Regions from separate parts of the Homo sapiens genome. Here all the other regions are linked to region 3. The links are contacts of gene promoters, found by promoter capture Hi-C in blood cells and fetal thymus (Javierre and others, 2016). All regions are on one chromosome and are shown on one strand. The core of a region is centred on a gene start or on the middle of the fragment in contact, and the rest is flanking DNA. Distances in the headings are between cores, read along the strand shown.

What was found. The method cuts DNA at HindIII sites, captures the fragments that hold promoters and counts their contacts. A CHiCAGO score of 5 or more calls a contact.
Region 1: a contact is called between a fragment that was not itself captured here and the fragment with the promoter of SPMIP7 in region 3, in 1 of 17 cell types (endothelial precursors). The highest score is 7.4, in endothelial precursors.
Region 2: a contact is called between a fragment that was not itself captured here and the fragment with the promoter of SPMIP7 in region 3, in 4 of 17 cell types (naive CD4 T cells, fetal thymus, activated CD4 T cells and 1 more). The highest score is 6.7, in naive CD4 T cells.

The regions. Positions count from the first base shown.
Region 1 is chr7:51,284,715-51,288,518 of GRCh38, reverse strand. All of the region lies in intron 1 of COBL (cordon-bleu WH2 repeat protein), which reads left to right. Among named protein-coding and RNA genes, the nearest start is that of COBL, 30 kb to the left of the region's middle. The HindIII fragment of the contact is 2,514 bases long and covers 1,138-3,651 here.
Region 2 is chr7:51,108,572-51,112,344 of GRCh38, reverse strand. All of the region lies in intron 6 of COBL (cordon-bleu WH2 repeat protein), which reads left to right. Among named protein-coding and RNA genes, the nearest start is that of COBL, 210 kb to the left of the region's middle. RefSeq lists an enhancer at 640-1,141. The HindIII fragment of the contact is 1,394 bases long and covers 912-2,305 here.
Region 3 is chr7:50,093,950-50,097,566 of GRCh38, reverse strand. SPMIP7 (sperm microtubule inner protein 7) reads right to left here and starts at 1,684. Exons shown (of 9, transcript NM_001161834.3): 1 at 929-1,684. The coding sequence starts at 1,481. LOC124901630 (a long non-coding RNA gene) reads right to left here. Exons shown (of 2, transcript XR_007060321.1): 2 at 3,226-3,617. The HindIII fragment of the contact is 3,144 bases long and covers 665-3,617 here.

The DNA of each region.
Region 1 (3,804 bases), core at 1,145-3,644, 1.2 Mb before region 3:
GGCCTCACAAAGTGCTGGGATTACAGGTGTGAGTCATCACGCCCAGCCCCATTTTCATTATTGTTGTTTTTTCTTTCTTTCTTTTTTTTTTTTTTTGGAGACTGTTGCCCAGGCTGGAGTGCAGTGGCGGGATCTCAGCTCACTGCAACCTCTGCCTCCCGGGTTCAAGCAATTCTCTTGTTTCAGCCTCCCAAATAGCTGGGACTACAGGCGCCTGCCACCATGCCTGGCTAATTTTTGTATTTTTAGTAGAGACAAGGTTTCACCTTGTTGGTCAGGCTGATCTCGAACTCCTGAACTCAGGTGATCCACCCGCCTCGGCCTCCCAAAGTGCTGGGATTACAGACGTGAGCCATCATGCCTGGCCCCCATTTGTATTTTTTAAATTTTACTTTTTAAACCAAAATGGAGTCCAGTTGACTTCTTTCATAATTCCATGAATTTTAACATGTGCATAGATACCACAATTAGCACACAGAACACTTTCATCACCCCAGCATTTTCTTTTGTTCTCTTCCTGGCAACCACTGATTTGTTCTCCATCACTATAATCTTTTTTGAGAATGCCCTATAAATGGAATTGTAGGGTATAACCTAACCTCTTTCGCACAGCATACTGCCTTTGAGATTCAGCTCCTTTCAGTCAACTGTCAGTAGTTCATTCATTTTTTTTTCTTTTTTTTTGAGACAGAGTCTCACTTTGTAGCCCAGTTATTATGCAGAGTCATCTTCTATCATATGGGTCCACCACTGTTTGTTTACCCATCCACCCATTGCAGGACATCTGGGTTTTCTCCAGTGTTTTGTGAGTGTGAATAGAGCTGCTATAAACATTCATGTACAGGTGTTTGTGTGAACCTACAGTTTCATTTCTTTAGGGTAAATACCCAGGAGTGGGAGTGCTGGGTCATAACTATATGCATAAAGTGTTTAACATTTTAGGAAATTGCCAAATGGTTTCCCAGAGTGTCTGTACCATTTTGCATTCCCACCAGCAGTGCATGAGAGCTCCAATTGCTTTGTATCCTCACCAGCACTTGATATTTTTAAGATTGTTTCATTTTAGCTATTCTTATATATTAGTATTACATCATGGTTTTAACTTGCATTTACCTAAAGGCTAACGATGGCGAAGCTTTATGTGTTTATTTACCATCCATATGTCTTTTTGGGGGAAATCTTTTGCCTGTCTTTTAAGTCTTTTGCCTGTTTTTCAAAGGGTTGTTTGTTTTCTTATTCTGTGGGATTGTTTTTATTTTTTGATTTTTCAACTTTTATTTTGGAATAAGAGGGTTCATATGCAGTTTTGTTACATGGGTATATTGCGGGATGCTGAGGTTTGGGGAATGGCTGATCCTATTATCCAGGTAGTGAGTGTGGTACCCATGCTCCTCTCCTTTCCTCCCCACCTCCAACATCGCCAGTGTCTGTTGTTCCCATCTTTGTGTCCATGTGTACTCAATGTTTAGCTCCCGCTTGTAAGTAACAACATGCAGTATTTGGTTTTCTGTTCCTGCATTAATTCACTTAGGATAGTGGCATCCAGCTGCATCCATGTTGCTGCAAAGGACATGATTTAATTCTTTTTTATGGCTGTGTAGTATTCGATGGTGTATATGTACCATATTTTTTTAATCCAGTCCACCATTGATGGGCACTTAGGTTGATTCCATGTCTTTCCTATTGTGAATAGTGTTGCAGTGAACATATGAGTGGCATGTGTCTTTTTGGCACAATGGTTTCTTTTCCTTTGGATATATATCCAGTAATGGGATTGCTTCATTGAATGGTAGTTATGCTTAAGTTCTTTGAGAAATCTCTAAACTACTTTCCACAGTGGCTGAACTAATTTGCATTCCCATCAACAGTGTATGTATTCCCCTTTCTCTACAGTCTCACCAACATCTGTTATTTTTTGACTTTTTGATAATCACCGTCCTGACTAGTGTGAGATGGCATCTCATTGTGGTTTTGATTTGCATTTCTCTGATGATTAATGATGATGAACAGTTTTTTCATATGTTTCTTGGCTGTTTGGATATTTTATTTTAAGAAGTATCTGTTCATGTCCTTTGCCATTTTAAAATTAGATTTTTTTTTGCTTTTTTTTTTTTAGTTACTTGAAGTTTCTTTATATAATGTGGATACAGCTCCTAGGTCATATGTGATTTGCAGATTTTTTTTTTTCAGTCAGTATCTTGTGTTTTTATTCTTTAGCAGTGTCTTTGGAAGAGTAGAAAATTTTAATTATGAAGAAGTACAGCTTTTTTTTTTTTTTAAACTTTATGCTCTAGACATGATTTAGGCACCATATCTAGGAACTCTTGCCTAACCCAGGCCATGAATATTTTCTTGGATGTTTCTTCTGAAGGTTTTATACCTTTACTTTTCCATTTAGATCAGTGGTCCATTTTGAGTTAATTGTTGTATAAGGCATGTGACTTAGGTCGAAGTTCTTCTGCTACTTCTCATTTTTCTTTGGCATAGGGTATCCAATTGTTATAATACCATTTGTTGAAAAGACTGTCTTTCGTCTATTTAATTGCCTTTACACCTTCATAAAAAATCACTTGAATATATTTATGTGGATCTATTTCTTGATTGTCAGTCTTGTTTAATTGATTTATAACTGTTGCTTCACCAATATCACACTATCTTGAATACTGTAGCTTTATAGTAAGTCTTAAGGCTATGTAATGTGATTCCTCCAACATTCTTATTTTTCAAAATTAGTTTGGCTCTTCTCATTTCTTTGCCTTTCCATATAAATTTTCAGATCAGTTTGTCTATGTCTACAAAAACAGCCATGCTGAGAATTTGAAATTTTGTTAAATCTGTAAATCAATTTGAGTCGTCTGACCAATGAATATATGTCTCTCCATTTTTCTAGGTTTTCTTTGATTTCATTAACCAGTGTTTTGTAGTTCTCAGCATACAATCTTACCCATGTCAACTAGACTTATACCTAAATACTTTACTTTTTTGGTAGATGTTTGTAAATGGCATTTTAAAATTTTAATTCCTAATTATGGATTGTTAGTATAGAAATATACTTGATTTTTGTGTGTTGACTTTGTATTCCATGAGCTTGCTTTAAACTCTATCAATTCTGTGAGGATTTTTGCTTTTTTTTTTTTTCTTTGCAGATTCCTTGGGATTTGCTATGTATGTCTAGAAAAAAGGTGTGGTTTATTTCTCTCTGTCCAAATTTGATGCCTTTTATTTGTTTTTCTCTTCTTATTGTACAGTGTAGATTTCCAGTAAGAAGTTGAATAGCTGGGCACGGTGGCTTATGCCTGTAATCCCAGCACTTTAGGAGGCTGAGGCGGGTGGATCACGAGGTCAGGAGTTCAAGACCAGCCTGGCCAAGATGTTGAAACCCTGTCTGTACTAAAAATACAAAAATTAGCCAGGTGTGCTGGCACGCTCCTGTTTTCCCAGCTACTTAGGAGTCTGAGGCAGAGATTTGCTTAAAACCAGGAGGTAGAGGTTGCAGTGAGCCAAGATTGTGCCACTGCACTCTAGCCTGGGTGACAGACCAAGACTCTGTCTCAAAAAAAAAAAAAAAAGTTGGATGGAAGTAGTGAGAATACACACTCTTACCTTGTTCCTGATCTTAGGGGAAAACATTCAGTCTTTCTTTGTGAAGCTTGATATTGGAGGTAGGTTTTTTTATACCTTTTTTTTTTTTTGAGACGGAGTCTTGCTTTGTTGCCCAGGCTGGAGTGCAGTGGTACGATCTTGGCTCACCACAACCTCTGCCTCCTGGGTTCAAGTGATTCTCCTGCCTCAGCCTCCTGAGTA
Region 2 (3,773 bases), core at 359-2,858, 1.0 Mb before region 3:
GTCCTTTGCTTCCAATGTTTCTTTAGGGCAAAAAATAAAAATAATCCACAGGACACTGAGGAGAGCAATACAATTTCCATCAGTGATGAATTGGAATAGAAATGCTGATGTATAGCAAAGATACTTACTCTATGTACAGAATCTACTTTGTAATCCCACTTCATGGCATTCTAGTTTCTCCTCTCTTATGCTTTTGCAACCATTAAATTGTTTCCAAGCCTTGTACAGTTGACTGTTATGTGTGTGGGAGTCTTTAGTAAAAATAGAAATAGACATCCACCTGAAAATTGCCTGGACTTGTTCTTAGTGGTCCCCGTGCCATGCAAGTGAACTGGATTCCTTTGATGATATTGATGAGGATATTACCTAATCTTCACCTCTTCCTAGGAACACACTTTACCATATGTCCCTGTGAAGTAAGTGTTAAGAGAGTAAAATAAATAAATCGCATTATGTACACAGGCCCTTTCTGCCCAGTCTTGCCATTCAGAAATGCACTCATTTAATCTCCTAGTTGTGAACACTTGCTGGGGCCCATCACATGCCCTGGCTGGCACTGCACAGTGCTGAGCAGCACAGATGGATACAGCTCCTCCTGGTATTGAGGAGGCCCCGTCTAAGAAGATACACAGATGTTACCATGAAGTCAAGGAGCATGCAGGGGCCCAGGCACGGGGGAGAGGCAGCTGTTTCTTTTCTGTGACATGTAGTATTGAGATGGGCCTTGAAGGATGGATGGGTCGTGAGGACAGGACAGTTCAGCGAGAGAGGACACTCCGTGCTGAGGCTGAGGTGGGGCCGGCGGGGAGAATCAGGGCCACTGGAAGAGCAGGATGCCACACTGCACACACCATTTGAGTAGGATCCTGCTTACAATTATGCAGCTAGTGACAGTGAATACAAACCAAGCTTCTTTCCAATGCCAATAATGCCATACTGGCCTCCCATCTGTTCCTCTTGTAGTATGTAAAAGGCCAAGTTAGAAGGGCTTGTTATCAAAGAGAGAAAAAGCAAATGCTGGCAAGGATATGGAGAAAGGGGATGCTTATGCACTCTTGGTGGGAATGTAAGTTAGTATAGCCATTATGAAAAATAGTATGGGGGTTCCTCAAAAACCTAAATGATGCAGCAATCCCACCACTAGGTATTTATCCAAAAGAAATGAAATTAGTATGTTGAAGAGATGTCTGCACCCCCATGTTTATTGCAGCATTATTCACAGTAGTCAAGATATGGTATCACCTTAAAGAACTAAAAGTAGAACTACCATTTGATCCAGCAATCCCACTACTGGGCATCTACCCAGAGGAAAAGAAGTCATTATTCGAAAAAGATACTTGCACACGCATGTTTATAGCAGCACAATTCACAATTGCAAAATCGTGGAACCAACCCAAATGCCCATCGATCAATGAGTGGATAAAGAAACTGTGCTATATACATATGATGGAATACTATGCAGTCATAAAAAGGAATAAATTAACAGCATTTGCAGTGACCTGGATGAGATTGGAGACTATGATTGTAAGTGAAGTAACTCAGGAATGGAAAACCAAACATCGTATGTTCTCACTGATATGTGGGAGCTAAGCTATGAGGACACAAAGGCATAAGAATGATACAGTGGACTTTGGGGACTTGTGGGCAAGAGTGGAAGGTTGGTTAAGGGATAAAAGACAACAAATATGGTGCAGTATATACCGCTTGGGTGATGGGTGTACCAAAACCTCACAGATCACAACTGAAGAACTTATGTAACCAAATACCACCTGTACCCCGATAACTTATTGAAAAATAAAATAAAGATATGGAATCAACCTAAGTGTCCGTCAGCGGATGAATGGTTAGAGAAGATGTGGTATATATACACAATAGAGTACTATTCTGCTATAAAGGAAAAAATGAAATCCTGTCATTTACAGCGACATGGATGGAACTGGAGGCCATTATATTAAGTGAAATAAACCAGGCACAGAAGGAGAAATAATGCAGGTTCTCACTCTTACGTGGGAGCTAAAAAAGTGGATCTCATGAAGGTAGAGAGTAGATTGGTGGTTACCAGAGGCTGCGCAGGGTGGAGGGGAGAGGGAGGAAGAGGGAATGCTTAATGGATATAAAAGTTCAATTAGGTCGAAGGAATAAGTTCTAGTGTTTGGTAGCATAGTCGGATGACTATTGTTAACAATAACTATTGTATAGTTTGAAATAGAAAAGATTTTAAATGTTTACAATACAAAGAAATGCTAAATGTTTGAGGTTAAAGATATCCCAATTACCCTGGTTTGATTATTACACATTGTAAGCTTGTATCAAAATACCACATGTACCCCATAAATATGTACAATTATTATGTATCAATTTTTTTAAAGAAAAAAGAAGAGGCCAAGCAGTTTCCATCCCCTTGCTCTCGCCTGTGTCATTCTTCCTCGTACCTTTGCACAGGTGGCCTGTTTCTTTCACTGCCTCAGCGCTCCATCCTCAGCCACGGAAACATGTGGCTGCCTTTCGTTTCTGTGGAAGGTGGCACTACTAACATGATGCAGTGGTTTCTTTCTGTCTTCCCCTCACGAGACATACATTCTGTGAGTGCAGGGAAGGAGTTTGCTGTCTTTTTTGAGGCTCCCCTTCCTTTGTGGAGAACAGTGCCTGGCATGTAGTCAGTTTTTTTAGTAAAATTTTTGAGAAATAAATGAGTGATCGAGCCTGGTAGCACAGTGGTAACTGACTCTGAGAGACAGAACGACAGAGAGGGAAGAAGCATTTAAGATAACTCAGGCAGGAAATGCAAAGGGCCTGAATAAAAGCAGGGGTAGCCAGGGGTGGGGGGCAAGGAGGGAGATGGGATTTTAGGACTGTCACAGCAAGAACTGAGGTGCTTCAGGAGCAGTGCAGTGAAGGTGGCGAGCGAGATGGAAGTGGCAAAGAATCCAACCTTTAAAGATTATCCAGAAGGGTCCGCAGATGCAGATGATGATGCAGAACCAGTTGGAGCTGAAATGTCTACAGGAACCGCACTGGCAGTTGTCTGGAGCTCACAGGGTGGTGCATTCACACAGGTGGTTTGAAAATGACCACCAGTAGGTGGTAGTTGGGGAAATAAGAATGGATGAAAACCAGAGATGAAGAGAAGAGGCAGCCCTGCGGAGCACCATGCCCAGGATGGGGAGCAGCCCGAGAGTGTGCAGAAACTCGCATAGTGCAAGGAGGGAAGAGGCTGCCTGGTGGGAACTCACAGGACCTTTGGATGTGACCATCAGAACACTGGGCCATTCACACAGGTGCCACACTAGGCAGGAGGCCAGTGGCAAGGAAGGTGGGGTGACCGAGACTAAGGAAAAGGAAGTTGAAGTGGAACCAGTTCTTTCAGTAAACTTCATGGGGCAGGGGGTGTGTGTGTGTGTGTGTGTGTGTGTGTGTGTGTGTGTGTCTATGTGTCAGTGTGTGTATCTTTGTGTGACGGCTCCATGATGGGAGAAGTAGGCAGGTGTCTTTGATAAGGAGGTACTGGAGAGCTATACAAGAGCTCAGGGTGACCTCCCCAAGGCTGGCTCCAGCGCCCCAGGGAGGGCTGAGTTTGGGGGAAGCAGCTTTCCTTTGGAGAATGGGGCCCAGTGTCTGAGAGCTGGCTCCTGCCTGGGACCTCCACTTTTTCTGAGTTATGGGGTAAGATCATCTGCTAACAGGGAAGGGAACGAAGGTGGAGTAACCCAGGAGGCCACAGGATGGGAATACATGTTTGGAATTTGCAGATGGGAAAAGCAAACAGAAGGAAT
Region 3 (3,617 bases), core at 435-2,934:
AGTTTTTGCCAGAGCTCAAGGCCAGACAGTCTGAGTCTAAAGCCTGTTCTCTAAACTCCTCTGTTTCACTGATTCAGGCAGTGAAATACATGGGACAGATGAGCTCTATACTTGGTTCTGACTTGGTGGTACAAAGTCTGTTAACACCATTTTAGCCCTATGTTAGCTTTGCTAAGCCATTTCTTCAACCTATAATTTCTTAGAATAATGTTTAAAAGTATTCTTCCTATAGCATTTGGCCCTTTCCTTTTCCGATGCTAAAAATGTTGATCTTTTTACATTCCTGCCTGCCAGACAGCTTTTATACAGAAAATAGTACCTGTGGCTTTCCTTTGGAGGTGTTTCTCATCATTTAGAGGAACTCCATTTACAGGAGTTCTTACAGAGAAACCACATGGTGCAGATGTCAGTAAGAGGTCATCAAACCTGCCTCCATGGCTGTGGAGCTATTTATGCAGAGTTTGCTTCATTTCAGCTTCTGTTCTTATTGGAGCCAAAAAATGTACGTTCAAGTACTTAAATTTTTCCCATTTTATTTCAATCCTTAAAACTAACTCTTTCATAATATCAGTGAATTCATTCTTTCAAAGGAGAGAGACAGATAAGGAGGATTTCTATACAATTATCAAAGTGATACATAAATTCCCCTGTGGTAAAACAAGCTTATCCATATATCTAGAATAAATAATGTTATATACTTTGTGTTAATCACTAATGAATGTTCTTTTCTTAAAGAATAAATTTTCTTTTACAAATAAGTTTATAAGGTTTATCATTCCTTTGTTTCTTATAATCTGTAATTTAAAAATAAAACCTTTTTCAGATCATTGTAATTTTGTTAATTTAACTGCCTAAATATTGAATCTTATGTCCATACTCTCTTCCCTTGAGCATTTAAAAAATAGAAAGTTCATGTCACTTCATTTACCTCCAAGTCTTGCTCTGATAGAAATGTCTGGTACTTCCCTGGAATTCCATCTCCTGTTCTGTTGCAGTTCTTCTGATAGAATTTTTTGCCTTTTTATTGTTGTTTGAAATCCTGTGTCTGGTCTGGGAACTCGATGTTGAGGTTTCACATCACTAAAATCCACTAGGGTTGGTATGGTTCTGCCAATGCCAGGATTTAAATCAGCATCACCACCAGGACTCATAAACCCTGAACAGGAATCACCTAAGGTCACATCATCCCGAAGTGGAAATAATGGATAATGTGGCCCATATGGTGGGGGATAAGGATCATGTAAATGATAGTCTGGCAAAACTGAAGGGGGATAAGGGTGAAATTTAAGAAAAGCAGGGTTGCATTTCTTTTCAAACCTGCCATAGTTATGTCTGTTCTCAAGACCTTTCACAAAAGGCATGTTCATTTTTCTTAAGAGATCACAATAGTGTGGGTAATCTATATTCTCAACAGTTCCTGAAAGGATGGACCTTTTAGAGATACTTATCTTTCCAGGTGTGTCCTGAATTTCTACATCCATGGCCTTTTTCTTTAGAATTTTTGATAACTATAAAGTATTTCTGATAATTCCTTTATATTTAACTATATAAACTCTATTGCCAATAACTAAAGATCTGTGTTAAACTAGTATAAAATTGACACAGCTTTCTAAATGTTGGCAGATAATTTTGTTTTTCTTTTTAAGGCAAATATTTTCCTCCACCAAAGGAAGAATAGGGCAATGAAGGAACATGACATAAGGAGAATAAAGCAGAGCCCTTGTTGCCTGGCAACGGCTAGAATTCTTAACACATTGAACCATTTATTATGTACATCACAATTCTTAAGAAAAACAAAAATAGCCTTGGTACTAATATTTCCATGATACTTTTCTCCCCAGTGCTCAGGAAAGCTGTGTTCATTTACTTATTTTAAAATTTTTCCATAAGTTGGTATTTTATGGGTATAAAATATATTTAAGGAGTGTAAATAAAGCAGTTAATTCAGTGACAATACATTTCTCAAAAGTATATATGTGACTACAATTAAGTATTTATATATATAACACTTGCTATCTAATTAAATGTAAATCTAAATGCACTACAAAATATAAACATTACTAAAGTTAAATTGGTACATCTAATTTTTTTTTTTTGGTGGAGTCTCACTCTGTCGCCTAGGCTGGAGTGCAGTGGTGTGATCTTGGCTCACTGCAAGCTCCGCCTCCCAGGTTCACGCCATTCTCCTGCCTCAGCCTCCCAAGCAGCTGGGACTGCAGGCGCCCGCCACCATGCCCGGCTAATTTTTTGTATTTTTAGTAGAGATGGGGTTTCACTGTGTTAGCCAGGATGGTCTCGATCTCCTGACCTTGTGATCTGCCCGCCTCGGCCTCCCAAAGTGCTGGGATTACAGGTGTGAGCCACTGTGCCCAGCCCTAGTATATCTAATTTTTAAGAAAAACAGAAAATTATAATGAAAGTACAGGTACATCTTTACATGCCCTAAATTATCTTTACTTCCCTTAAATTTGCCATGGTGTCCAGAGTAAGAACAGTAAGAGTTTTAAGTTCATTTTAGGAAACCACAATGGGTATCAGTTAACTGTCTACACACAAAATATCATTTAAATCACTAATGTATTGGTTCACTTAAAAGCTCTTTCACCTGGATAATTTCATCTTGCATGAACTACTATAAGAGGAAATGCAAATATTAGAATTTGGGGTAAAAGTTCACATCATCCTTACTGCAGCAAAAATGTTAAAACAGGCAAGATTCTAGCTTTGAAGAGTCAGGCACATAATCGTTAATCAGGCCAACTGTCAAGGGTGATATGTTTGGTACAATCAGAATGCCTATGCCCCATTGAAAGTCTTTACAATTTTGAGATATACTATTAAACAAGTGAGATTAAATTAGGTGGTTAGGCTGTCAGTTTTAAATCCTTCATCCAGATCATAGCATATCAAGTGACAGTTTTTAGTCCACCCATGATCACTCATTTCTTCATATCAAAAGTGATAACTCACTTGTAATTAGGCATTCTACATTTAGTTGCTCAAACTTCATTCTTCAATGTATTTAAACCAACTGCTTAAGATTTATTTCTATCACAGCTCTGCTCCCATTAAGTAAATCCTTCCAGCAGCAGAAAAGTAGAGGCATGAGTCTCTTTCAATTTCTCTAAAACAAGTTCTAGCTATAAATGGCCTCTTAGGCTGTGTATGGGAAAATAATAACCCCCATAACTTTGTACTTAGAATGGATCCTTTACAAGAGACAGATTAACAAGAGAAAAACAGATGTTTATTAATATATTTCATTTATATATGAGGAACACCCAGAGAATGAGTAGTTCTCAAAGAAGCGTCTTTGAATTCCAGCTTGTATAGCATCTTCAACAAAGACTAGGAAATTTTTAGAGATGTGACAAAGGAAAAGGACTCTGAGTCTCTACAGGCAGTAACTTGGGCTAAGCAAACAAATAGCAGACAAAAGATGGTTTAAAAAAAGCTAATATTAATTCCTCTGATATCATTTCAAGGCTAATGAGGGTCTGACGCTGTCTTCAGTGGTTAACCTTTGTTCTCCCTGGTAAAGGAGTGGGGCAGGATACCTTTTCTCTTTCTAATCTATGTCTTGCTTCTGGGTAAAAAGAGGGCAGGTGGACAGCTCT